Linked DNA regions of Homo sapiens: regions 1 and 2 are each linked to region 3. The links are contacts of gene promoters, found by promoter capture Hi-C in blood cells and fetal thymus (Javierre and others, 2016). All regions are on one chromosome and are shown on one strand. Each heading gives the region's core, a stretch centred on a gene start or on the middle of the fragment in contact. The rest is flanking DNA. Distances are from core to core; before and after follow the strand shown. Region 1 holds the start of DHX9 (DExH-box helicase 9). Region 2 overlaps ODR4 (odr-4 GPCR localization factor homolog). Region 3 holds the start of BPNT1 (3'(2'), 5'-bisphosphate nucleotidase 1).

Region 1 (3,564 bases), core at 385-2,884, about 37 Mb before region 3:
CTCTATATTACTGATTTAATCTCATTACTCATAGTTGGTCTTTTCAGGTTTTCTATTTCTTCTTGGTCCAATTTTGGTAAGTTGTATCTGTTCAGGAATTTATCCATTTCCATTTGGTTTCCAATTTGTTGGCATATAGTTGTTCATAATAGTCTCTAATGATCCTTTGTATTTCTGTGGTATCGGTTTAATGTCTTCTAGGCCCCTGCTGCTTTCAACACCCTGAAGGGTACAAAAAAAAAAAAATTAAGGTCTTTCCTTCAATGATTTTATTCTTAATTAAGGAGAACAATCACATGAAGAAAATAATAAGTAAATGATAAACTATGTTGTTCTGATTTTAAGAATGACAGTTTTAAAGGGAGTGATCACTATCAGCTAGAAGGATTAAGAAAAACATAAGGAAAGAGGTGAAAAATAAAGATCCATAGATATAATGAGCCCAGATAATTGATTAGTCTGGATTCCCTGGAACAATCCCAGCTGGAAATGTTTTGTATCATTACCTTCATGGGACGCACTGGAGTTTCAAAATTTAACAGTGACTAGTATAATAATTAAGGACACAATTATTCCAAAGACTTGGAACACAAAATTACTCCAAAGACTTGGAACACAAAAGGTTATCCAATTTAAACAAAAGCAACCTTGCAGATTTTATTCCTACCTTAAAGTAGTTTGCTGAGCACTTACAGTAATGTTCCAGGCACGGCAAGGAGCGACCTGCGTTAGCCAGGCAGAATGCCCGCCTTCACTGAGCTTATTTCTTTCATGGTTTTTTTTTTTTTTTTTGAGACGGAGTCTCGCTCTCTCGCCCAGAAAATGGCGTGATCTCGGCCCACTGCAACCTCCGCCTCCGCCCCCGACCCCGGGGTTCAAGCGATTCTCCTGCCTCAGCCTCCCGAGTAGCTGGGATTGCAGGAGCCCGCCCAGCCACCCAAGCAGCTGGGATTGCAGGCGCCCGCCCCCATGCCCGGCTAATTTTTGTATTTTTTTTTTTTTTTTTAGTAGAAACGGGGTTTCACCACGCTGGCCAGGCTGGTCTCAAACTCCTGACCCCAAGTGATTCGCCCACCTCGGCCTCCCAAAGTGCTGGGATTACAGTCACCACGCCCGGCCAGTTTATTTCTTTCAAGAGACACTGGCGTTCAGACTATCTGAATCAATCCGGTAACTACGCCCACTGAACACCTACTACATGCCAGGTATTGAACTAAGCCGCCCTTCATATGCCATCTCATGTAATTATCTCAACAACCCTACCAAGTTAGCAGCAAGGTTTCCAGTTCTGCCTTCGAAGGGAACCTCCTCTCACCGGAGATCCCTATGACAGACCCTGCGAAATATTTTGCTGCATCAGAATGCTACAGGCCGTCAACTCCCTAACATGCGCAAAAGCGGGCAGCCGATTATCCAGGGTAGTGGATTATCCAGGAGAGTGGATTATCCAGAGTAGCAGGTCTGGCGCGATGCCCGCCCGGCTCAGCCCATCTCCCTAGCAACGAAACCCTTCCGCGCCGCGAGGTTGCTGAGCCCCGCCCCCTCCATTGGCGCGCCCTCGCCATCCCCCGCCCTGGCACGCGCTCTGCGCATGCGTACGCTCGCTGGCCCCGCCCCCTAGCGCCGCGGTCGGAGCCATTTCGCCGATTCCTCCATGCGAGTTGCTGTGCGTTTCTCTGTTGTCTCGGTAGAAGGCCAGAGTCACACACGGTCCTAAGAGCTGGGCACCAGGAAGCGAAGGCTGGTAAGGGAGAGACGTTCCGGCTACCATGCGGGGCGGCGGGGTCGCGGGCGGGCGCCGTGGACCATGGCTCCGCAGCCGGCTTTGTTGCGAAGCGCGGGCGGCGGCGGCGGCTGGGGGTGGGGGAAGGGACGAGCCGCCCGCGGGTCCCCGGATTGCGGGTTGCGTGCGCGCCTCGCCGCGATGCGCTTGCGCCGTCCGGGCAGCCTGTGGCCCCCTCCCCTCTCCTCCGCCCAGCGTTTCCCGCTGCTGCCTCTAGCAGGCAAAGCGCGCTTCCTCCTCTGGCCTGCGTACGCCGGGGCACCGCGGCGGCTGAGGGAAGGGGGTGCTTCGCCTGTGGTGGTTGCCGCCGGGGCGCCACTGGCCTAGGGCTCTTCATTCATTCAAGCCACGAATAACTGGCGCCGTCGTGCAGGCCTTGTGGGTAGAGGAAAAAAAATTGAAGAATGTAAAGGGAGAGCGCCTTTGGCTAGTATAGCGAGGTAAGGCGTCTCGAAGGAGGGAGGCTTTGAGCTGATAACCTCGGCCAACGCGAAGGAAAAGCAGAGCCTGCAGAAGCGGAAGGGATTAGTTATCGCTTAAGGGCAGAAACTGGGCGGGAGCTGAAAGCAGGCCATGTGACTGGAGTGTGGCGAGAAGGCCTTCAAAGGAGAATGGGTTTTAGGGTGGCAAGAGTGGAAACAAAAACCGTGTAGGACAATATTTCACTAGCCCGGGTGTGCAGTAGTGGTGGCAGGAGAGATGGGGAGAAACGAATGGATAGGGGACGTATTTTGAAGCAGAAATGCGTAGTGGTGGAAGGTAGTAGATCTGGAGTCAGGCTACGTTTTCTGGAATTCTTGCGCCTTTTTTTTTTTTTTTTTTTTTGCAAGAGTCTCGCTCTGTCGCCAGACTGGAGTGCAGTGGCGCGATGGCGGCTCACAGCAACGTCGGTCTCCCGGGTTCAAGTGATTCTCCTGCCTCAGCCTCCGGAGTAGCTGGGACTACAGGCGCGCGCCACCACGCCCAGCTAATTTTTGTATTTTTAGTAGAGACGGGGTTTCATCATGTTGGCCAGGATGGTCTCGATCTCTCGACCTCGTGATCCGCCTGCCTTGGCCTACCAAAGTGCTGGGATTACAGGCGTGAGCCTCCGCGCCCGCCCGAATTCTTGCTCTTATAATTAGGAGCTCTGTCTTCCTGAAGCAAGATATTCTTTGTCTCAGTTTCCCCTTCTCTAAAGGGATAGTGATCTTACCTGTACAAGGTTACTAAGGATTAAGTAAAATAGTTCCATTTAGATGATCTATTATGGATATTGTTTGACACACATTAAGGGTTCTACAAGGGATAGCTATGGAGAATCTTAAGGGAGTGGACGACTCTCAACTTGTGCCAGGAGTAACTTGGTGGATGTCGTACCGTTTATGGAAACCGAAATGTAGGGGTAGGGTGTTGGAACAGATTTGAGGGGAAATTTAAAATTCTGTTTTGACTGAGATGCCAAGTTAGCATGCAAATGGGTGAGTTAGTGCCACAGTTGGATGAACTTAATTTTGGACTTTAAAGAGAAACGACGGGCGGGCGCGGTGGCTGACGCCTGTAATCCAGCACTTCGGGAGGTTGAGGCGGGCCGATCAAGAGGTCAGGAGATCAAGACCATCCTGGCCAACACGGTGAAACCCCGTGTCTACTAAAAATACAAAAAATTAGCTGGGCGTGGTGGCGGGCGCCTGTTGTCCCAGCTACTCGGGAGGCTGAGGCAGGAGAATCGCTTGAACCTGGGAGGCGGAGGTTGCAGTGAGCCAAGATCTCGCCCCTGCACTCCAGCCTGAGCGACAGAA
Region 2 (3,207 bases), core at 24-2,523, about 34 Mb before region 3:
AATGTGGGGCTCTTTTTGTTAGGAGTTTTCTATTTAAGTTTTTTTCTTTCTCTTTGTTTAAAACATTTAAGAGAAGAAGAGTCTTAGAGAAAGATGTGATCAGTAGAGATAAAAAGTCAGGGAGAAAGACCCTCTTCTAAATTTGTCTTAACTGGATAAAGGTTGTTTCTAAAGCTCAGGCAAACTGCCATCTTACAAATGAGTGTCTCATAATTTAAGGCCTTCCTTCTTTTTTTTTTTTTTGAGACGGAGTCTCGCTGTCGCCCAGGCTGGAGTGCAGTGGCGCAATCTCGGCTCACTGCAGGCTCCGCCCCCTGGGGTTCACGCCATTCTCCTGCCTCAGCCTCCCGAGTAGCTGGGACTACAGGCGCCCGCCACCTCGCCCGGCTAATTTTTTGTATTTTTAGTAGAGACGGGGTTTCACCGTGTTAGCCAGGATGGTCTCGATCTCCTGATCTCGTGATCCGCCTGCCTCGGCCTCCCAAAGTGCTGGGATTACAGGCGTGAGCCACCGCGCCCGGCCTAAGGCCTTCCTTCTATCTCTTTTTATGCTGTAGTATGTATTGCTCACGGACAGAGCAATTCATTCCTTTCAGTATTCTACGTGCTTTTTCTTCCAGAGTTCATTACTTTTTCCTCTCCTTCCTCTTAAGCTTGCCTGTTTCCTGGTCTCTGTCAGTTTCTTTTTCTTTTCAAAGTTATACATTTTATGAAGAAAAGAGGAGCCTTCTTAACTGAGACCTACTTTCTTTTCCTGTGTTTATTTGAATGTAACTTCCTGAAAATAACCTGTAGGAATAGTTACTCTTATTTTCTATCCCAAGATGATACTAATGATCAGAGTTTCAGGTCATGTGTGGGGAAGATACAATGCTAACTTGCATTAGCAGTGTTATTTTCACTCTTTTTTTATAGGAAACTTTCACTGTAGTGAAACTGAGCTATTGAATGTTCCCCTACATTTATTTTTAGATCTCCCAACTTTGGTTACTACTTAACTGATATTACAGCTGAAGAACAGATTGGGTGTGGTGGCTCATGCCTGTAATCCCAATGCTTTGGGAGGCCGAGGTGGGAGGATTGCTTGAAGGTCAGAGTTTGACCTAGCCTGGGCAACATAGCAAGACTCTGTCTCTACAAAAAAGTAAAAAAAAAAAAAAAAAAAAGCCAGGCATTATGGCTGATTGTTTGAGCCTGTAGTCCTAGCTACTTGGGAGACTACTTGGGGGGAGGATTGCTTGAGCCCAGGAGTGCAAGGTTGCAGTGAGCTATGATCACACCACTGCACTCCAGCCTGGGCATTAGAGCAAGACCCTGTCTCTAAATAAATAAATAAATACACACACACACAAAGAACAAAAAACAAAACAAAACAAAAAACTTGAGGAACATAGAATCTGTATCACTTTAAATTGTGTCCCAAATCCCCTTTGTTATTCTGTGGAAATGTATGTGGAAGTTCCCTACTGTCATCATTTCAATTAAAATAAGATACAAAAGGTCACTTGTTGTTTCATTTTACTAATATTTTCCGATCTGTTCATTTATAACTTATAAAACAAATATAACTAGAAAACTGAATAAGCATATTACTTTTTAGTTAATGTAATTCATTCACTCATCCAGTAAACCATTTTTAGGGACCACTCCATGATTTACATTTGAGTTGTCCAAATAAATAAGAAGCTGATATTAAATACATTAAAAGATAAACAACATGTGAGGGAAAGATTGTAAGGCCATCCTTGAAAATTAGCTTCCCTTTAGCTTCCATTATAATGTGGGTATTAATGATTTAACCTGTTACAAATATTACTCAGTTTTTGCATGTCATAAAAGCTAAGGAATTTAGGTATCACTCTAATTAGATTGAGGAATCAGATATCACTCTAACAAGCTTTTTAATTTGTTGTTGAAGTGTTCGTCACAAAAGGATTATGTGATTCTTGCCACTAGAACGCCACCCAAAGAGGAGCAAAGTGAGAACCTCAAACATCCCAAAGCTAAGTTGGATAACTTGGATGAAGAATGGGCCACAGAACATGCCTGCCAGGTTATCTTATTTTTTTGTTTATATGTTTAAGTTTTATTTCAAAAAAGAGCTAGAATCAAGAAGATTTAGTGAATGAGTAGAGAGAAGAGACATAGGGAGAAAGTAGCTAAAGATGACTGAGATTTTTAGTCTGGGTGTCTAGGAGGATACTGTTGGCATTACACGAGGAAGAAACAGATTTGGGATGGGTGAGTGGGAATAATGACTAAATTAATTCACTTACAAGTATTTATTGAATGAATTATATATCATCAAATAAATAATGTTAGAATAAGGTAAAAATAGAATTATTTCCTTTTCTGGGGTTGGGGGTGAGGGGAGGGAACTTAGAGGACAGGTCAATAGGTGCAGCAAGCCACCATGGCACACGTAAACCTATGTGACAGACTTGCACATTCTGCGTTTTTGTTTGTTTGTTTTAAGAAAAAGAATTTTCTTTAATAAATAAAAGATTTATTTCCTTTTCCAATCAACTTTAAATCTTTAAATCTTTTAAACTCAAACGTGTTTCTGTGTATGTAGATATATATATATATATATATGGACATATATTTGTGTCTGTGTATGTGTTTGATTATGGAGCAGTGTGTAGTTATATTTAAAAAAAAAATAAAATCTTGCCTGTAATCCCAGCACTTTGGGAGGCCAAGGTGGGTGGATCACCTGAGGTCAGGAGTTCAAGACCAGCCTGGCCAACATGGTGAAACCCCGTCTCTAGTAAAAATATGAAAAACTAGCCAGGTGTGGTGGCAGGTGCCTGTAATCCCAGCTACTTGGGAGGCTGAGGCAGGAGAATTGCTTGAACCTGGGAGGCGGAGGTTGCAATGAGCCAAGATCACACCATTGCACTCCAGACTGGGCGACAAAGCGAGACTCTGTCTCAACAAAACAAAACGAAGAAATCCAGTATTTAATTATTATTGTTTTAGTCTGTTTGGGTGGCTATTAAGGAATACCTAAGACTGAGTAATTTATAAAGAAAAAAAGGCCTGTTTGGCTCATGATTCTGCTGGCTGCAAGATTGAGCATCTGGTCAAAGCCTCAGGCTGCTTCTGTTCATGTCAGAAGGCAGATTGGAGCTGGTGTGTAAAGATCACTGGGCCAGAGAGGAAGCAAGGGGTTGGGAGGTGCTAGGCTTTTTTTTTTAACAACCA
Region 3 (3,537 bases), core at 664-3,163:
ATTAATTTATTTATTTTTTGAGACAGAGTTTTTGCTCTTGTTGCCCAGGCTGGAGTGCAATGGCGAGATCTTGGCTCACCGCAACCTCTGCCTCCCGGGTTTAAGCGATTCTCCTGCCTCAGCCTCCCGAGTAGCTGGGATTACAGGCAAGCATCTCCACACCTGGCTAATTTTGTATTTTTAGTAGAGACAGGGTTTCTCCATGTTGGTCAGGCTGGTCTCGAACTTCCGACCTCATGGCCTGCCTAAGCCTCCCAAAGTGCTAGGATTACAGGCGTGAGCCACCGCGCCGGGCCATGATTGTTTATTTTTAAGATTGGCATAGAAAAGAAAATTTGGCAGGGCACGGTGGCTCACACCTGTAATCCCAGCACTTTGGGAGGCCAAGGCAGGTGAATCACCTGAAGTTAGGAGTTCAAGACTAGCCTGGCCAACATGGTGAAACCCCATCTCTACTAAAAATACAAAAATTAACCAGGCATAGTAATACAAAAATTACTCAGGAGGCTGAGGCAGGAAAATTGCTTGAACATAGGAGGCAGAGGTTGTGGTGAGCCGAGATCGCGCCACTGCAGTCCAGCCTGGGCGACAGAGACTCCGACTCAAAAAAAAAAAAAAAAAAAAAAATTGTCGCTGAATGCAGTGGCTCACACCCGTAATCCTAGAACTTTTTGGGAGGCCAAGGCTGGTGTATTGCTTGAGCTCAGGAGTTCGAGACCAGCCTGGGCAACATGGCAAAACCTCGTCTCTACAAAAAAATGCAAAAATTAGATGGTGTGGTGGCACATGCCTGTAGTCCCAGCTGCTCGGGAGGCTGAGGTGGGAGAATCACCAGACCCTGGGAGGTCAAGGTTGCAGTGAGACATAATGGCACCACTGTACTCCAGCCTGGGGGACAGAGCTAGAACCTGTCTTAAAAAAAAAAAAAAAAGAAAGAAAGAAAGGCTGGGCGCGGTGGCTCACGCCTGTAATCCCAGCACTTTGGGAGGCCGAGACGGGCAGATCACGAGGTCAGGAGATCGAAACCATCCTGACTAACACGGTGAAACCCCGTCTCTACTAAAAATACAAAAAAAATTAGCCAGGCTTGGTGGTGGGCGCCTGTAGTCCCAGCTACTCGGGAGGCTGAGGCAGGAGAATGGCGTGAACCTGGGAGGTGGAGCTTGCAGTGAGCCGAGATTGCACCACTGCACTCAAGCCTGGGCGACAGAGCGAGACTCCGTCTCGAAAAAAAAAAAAAAAAAAAAAAAAGAAGGAGGAGGAAGGAGGAGGAAGAAGAAGAAGAAAAAAGAAGAAAGAAGAAGAGTTTGTCCTTTGTCCAGTTTGCAAGGGTGTGAGGGAACATGTTCCTGAGCATTGTTGGCAAAGCGGTGAACCCTCTTAGGAGAGTTTTGAGAACCTTAATAAAAGTATAAAGTACGTATCTTTTGAACCAACAATTATATTTACAGAGAAATCCAAATAAATCACGCAAACCTATAAATATGTAGAAATGGCAGTTGGAAGAATATTTGCTGTTTAAAGAAATTTAATTTTAGGTACCAAGCAGTTTCTAAATTTGGGTGCATCAACAAACTCAATGTCTAGGTTTGTCTTGTTTCTACAGTATATGGCTATAAAAACCTTCCGGATCACGAAAATAAAAGCACAGATAAACAATTAAAATATCGACACTCAAGAGTCCAAGTCGGAAGTTAGAATATCTGGAGAAGCAATCTGATTCACATAAACCTTTTTCGTTTTATTTTTTTAACATAAATCCTATCTACCTGGCTCTTGCCCTGACCGGCCGGAGAGAAACGGTGACAAACCTGGAACAACGTTGGACCAAAGACACTTCAGGAGGAGCAAAAGCGCGTTATCGTAGACCCAGGTCCCTCGTTGTGTCCAGTACCGAGCTTTGGCACTGTCAATAAGTCTTTTGAGAAGGATGGCATCCCTACCTCAGCTACTGAGCATGCGGGAAACTGCGCGCAAGCGCACAACAGCGATTTCACACTGCCTCTTTAGACTCCTGATCCGCGGGAAAATTCCACTTGTCCGTGTTTTCTCCAAGCTCTCCGTAGGTGCAAGTCACCTGTTGCATTAAATAAAAGCGAAAGATGTGTCAACTTTCAAAGATTGGCTAAAAAAAGAAAAAGAAGAAGGAAAGAACACATTAAGCCAGCAACAGTGTGTTGAAACAAAAAAAAGATTGGTTTTGGTTTCAGCTGTCTTCCAGCCCACTTCGTAGAGTTCACTGTTTTAAAATGTTCTTTGTATTAGTGATACCACTCTGCGGCTATTTAACTTCGAACCCCTAGCGGTCCGTGGACAGGCTTCAGCAGGTCCACCACACACACCTCCACCTCCCACTCCCCACGCAATAACACAGCAACTTTATGCAGAATTGTGTCAAAGATGCTTGCTTACCTTTTTTTTTTTTTTTTTTTTTTTTTTTTTAAGCGATAGATAGCTTGCTCTGTCGCCCAGAGTCGATTACGGCTCACTGCTGCCTTCCCACTTCTAGGCTCAAGCCATCCTCCCGCCTCAGCCTTCCGTGTAGCTGGGACTACTGGTGGAGGTGCGCGCCACCACACCCAGCTAATTAAAATATTTTTTGTGTACAGATGGGATCTTTTACTGGGGGGCGTGGTTGGGGAAGGGGGCAGTGTCTCATCCTGTCGCCCAGGCTGGAGTGCAGTGGCGCAGTCTAGGTTCACTACAACCTCCTCCTCCTGGGTTCAAGCGATCCTTCCTCCTTAGCCTCCCAAGTAGCTAGGACTACAGGCGCGCCACCACGCCGGGCTAATTTTGTTTGTTTTTTAAGTAGAGACGGGGTTTCATCATATTGGCCAGGCTGGTCTTGAACTCCTGACCCCAGGTGATCTGCTCACCTCGGCCTCCCAAAGTGCTGGGATTACAGGTGTGAGCCACTGCGCCCAGCTTAAAAAGGCTTTTACGTCTTCATTTGATTTTCACAATAACTCTGTGAGTTAAGTAGACCCTTTTTGGGAAGTGGAAAAATATACATAACTTAAATTATATTACTTTAACCATATATATATATATATATATATATATATATATATATATACACACACACACACACACACATATATACATATATATATTTTTTGAGACGGCGTCTTACTCTGTCGCCCAGGCTGGAGTGCAATGGCTTGATCTCGGCTCACTGCAACCTCTGCCTCCCAGGGTTCAAGCTATTCTCCTGCTTCAGCCTCCTGAGTAACTGGGACTACAGGCGCACACCACCCAGCCCAGCTAGTTTTTGCATTTTTTTTTTTTTTAGTAAAGACGGGGTTTCACCATGTTGGCCAGGCTGGTCTCGAACTCCTGACCTCATGATCCGCCCGCCTCGGCCTCCCAAAGTGCTGAGATTACAGGCATGAGCCACTGCACCTGGCCATACTTTGGTTTTTATAATTAAATTGTATAATTACATGACAAGTACAAATGGCTTAAATAAAGACAAACATAATGCAAGGTAAGCTCAACAAGTGAGAATAGAAATCTGCAGTCATCCTAAAGAGTAGC

What was found. Contacts are between HindIII fragments. The CHiCAGO score rates a contact against its expected background, and 5 or more counts as called.
Region 1: a contact is called between the fragment with the promoter of DHX9 here and the fragment with the promoter of BPNT1 in region 3, in 1 of 17 cell types (naive CD8 T cells). The highest score is 5.5, in naive CD8 T cells.
Region 2: a contact is called between a fragment that was not itself captured here and the fragment with the promoter of BPNT1 in region 3, in 1 of 17 cell types (total CD8 T cells). The highest score is 5.1, in total CD8 T cells.

What each region holds. Positions count from the first base shown.
Region 1 is chr1:182,837,713-182,841,276 of GRCh38, forward strand. It overlaps DHX9 (DExH-box helicase 9), which reads left to right and starts at 1,635. Exons shown (of 28, transcript NM_001357.5): 1 at 1,635-1,744. DHX9-AS1 (DHX9 antisense RNA 1) reads right to left here and starts at 1,879. Exons shown (of 2, transcript NR_148933.1): 1 at 1,600-1,879; 2 at 1-222. RefSeq lists an enhancer at 1,260-2,101 and a silencer at 1,525-1,954. The HindIII fragment of the contact is 6,331 bases long and covers 1-3,564 here.
Region 2 is chr1:186,381,104-186,384,310 of GRCh38, forward strand. ODR4 (odr-4 GPCR localization factor homolog) reads left to right here. Exons shown (of 14, transcript NM_017847.6): 3 at 1,919-2,053. Among named protein-coding and RNA genes, the nearest start is that of ODR4, 6.9 kb to the left of the region's middle. The HindIII fragment of the contact is 1,244 bases long and covers 652-1,895 here.
Region 3 is chr1:220,087,875-220,091,411 of GRCh38, forward strand. It overlaps BPNT1 (3'(2'), 5'-bisphosphate nucleotidase 1), which reads right to left and starts at 1,914. Exons shown (of 9, transcript NM_006085.6): 1 at 1,812-1,914. RefSeq lists an enhancer at 2,025-2,214. The HindIII fragment of the contact is 18,631 bases long and covers 1-3,537 here.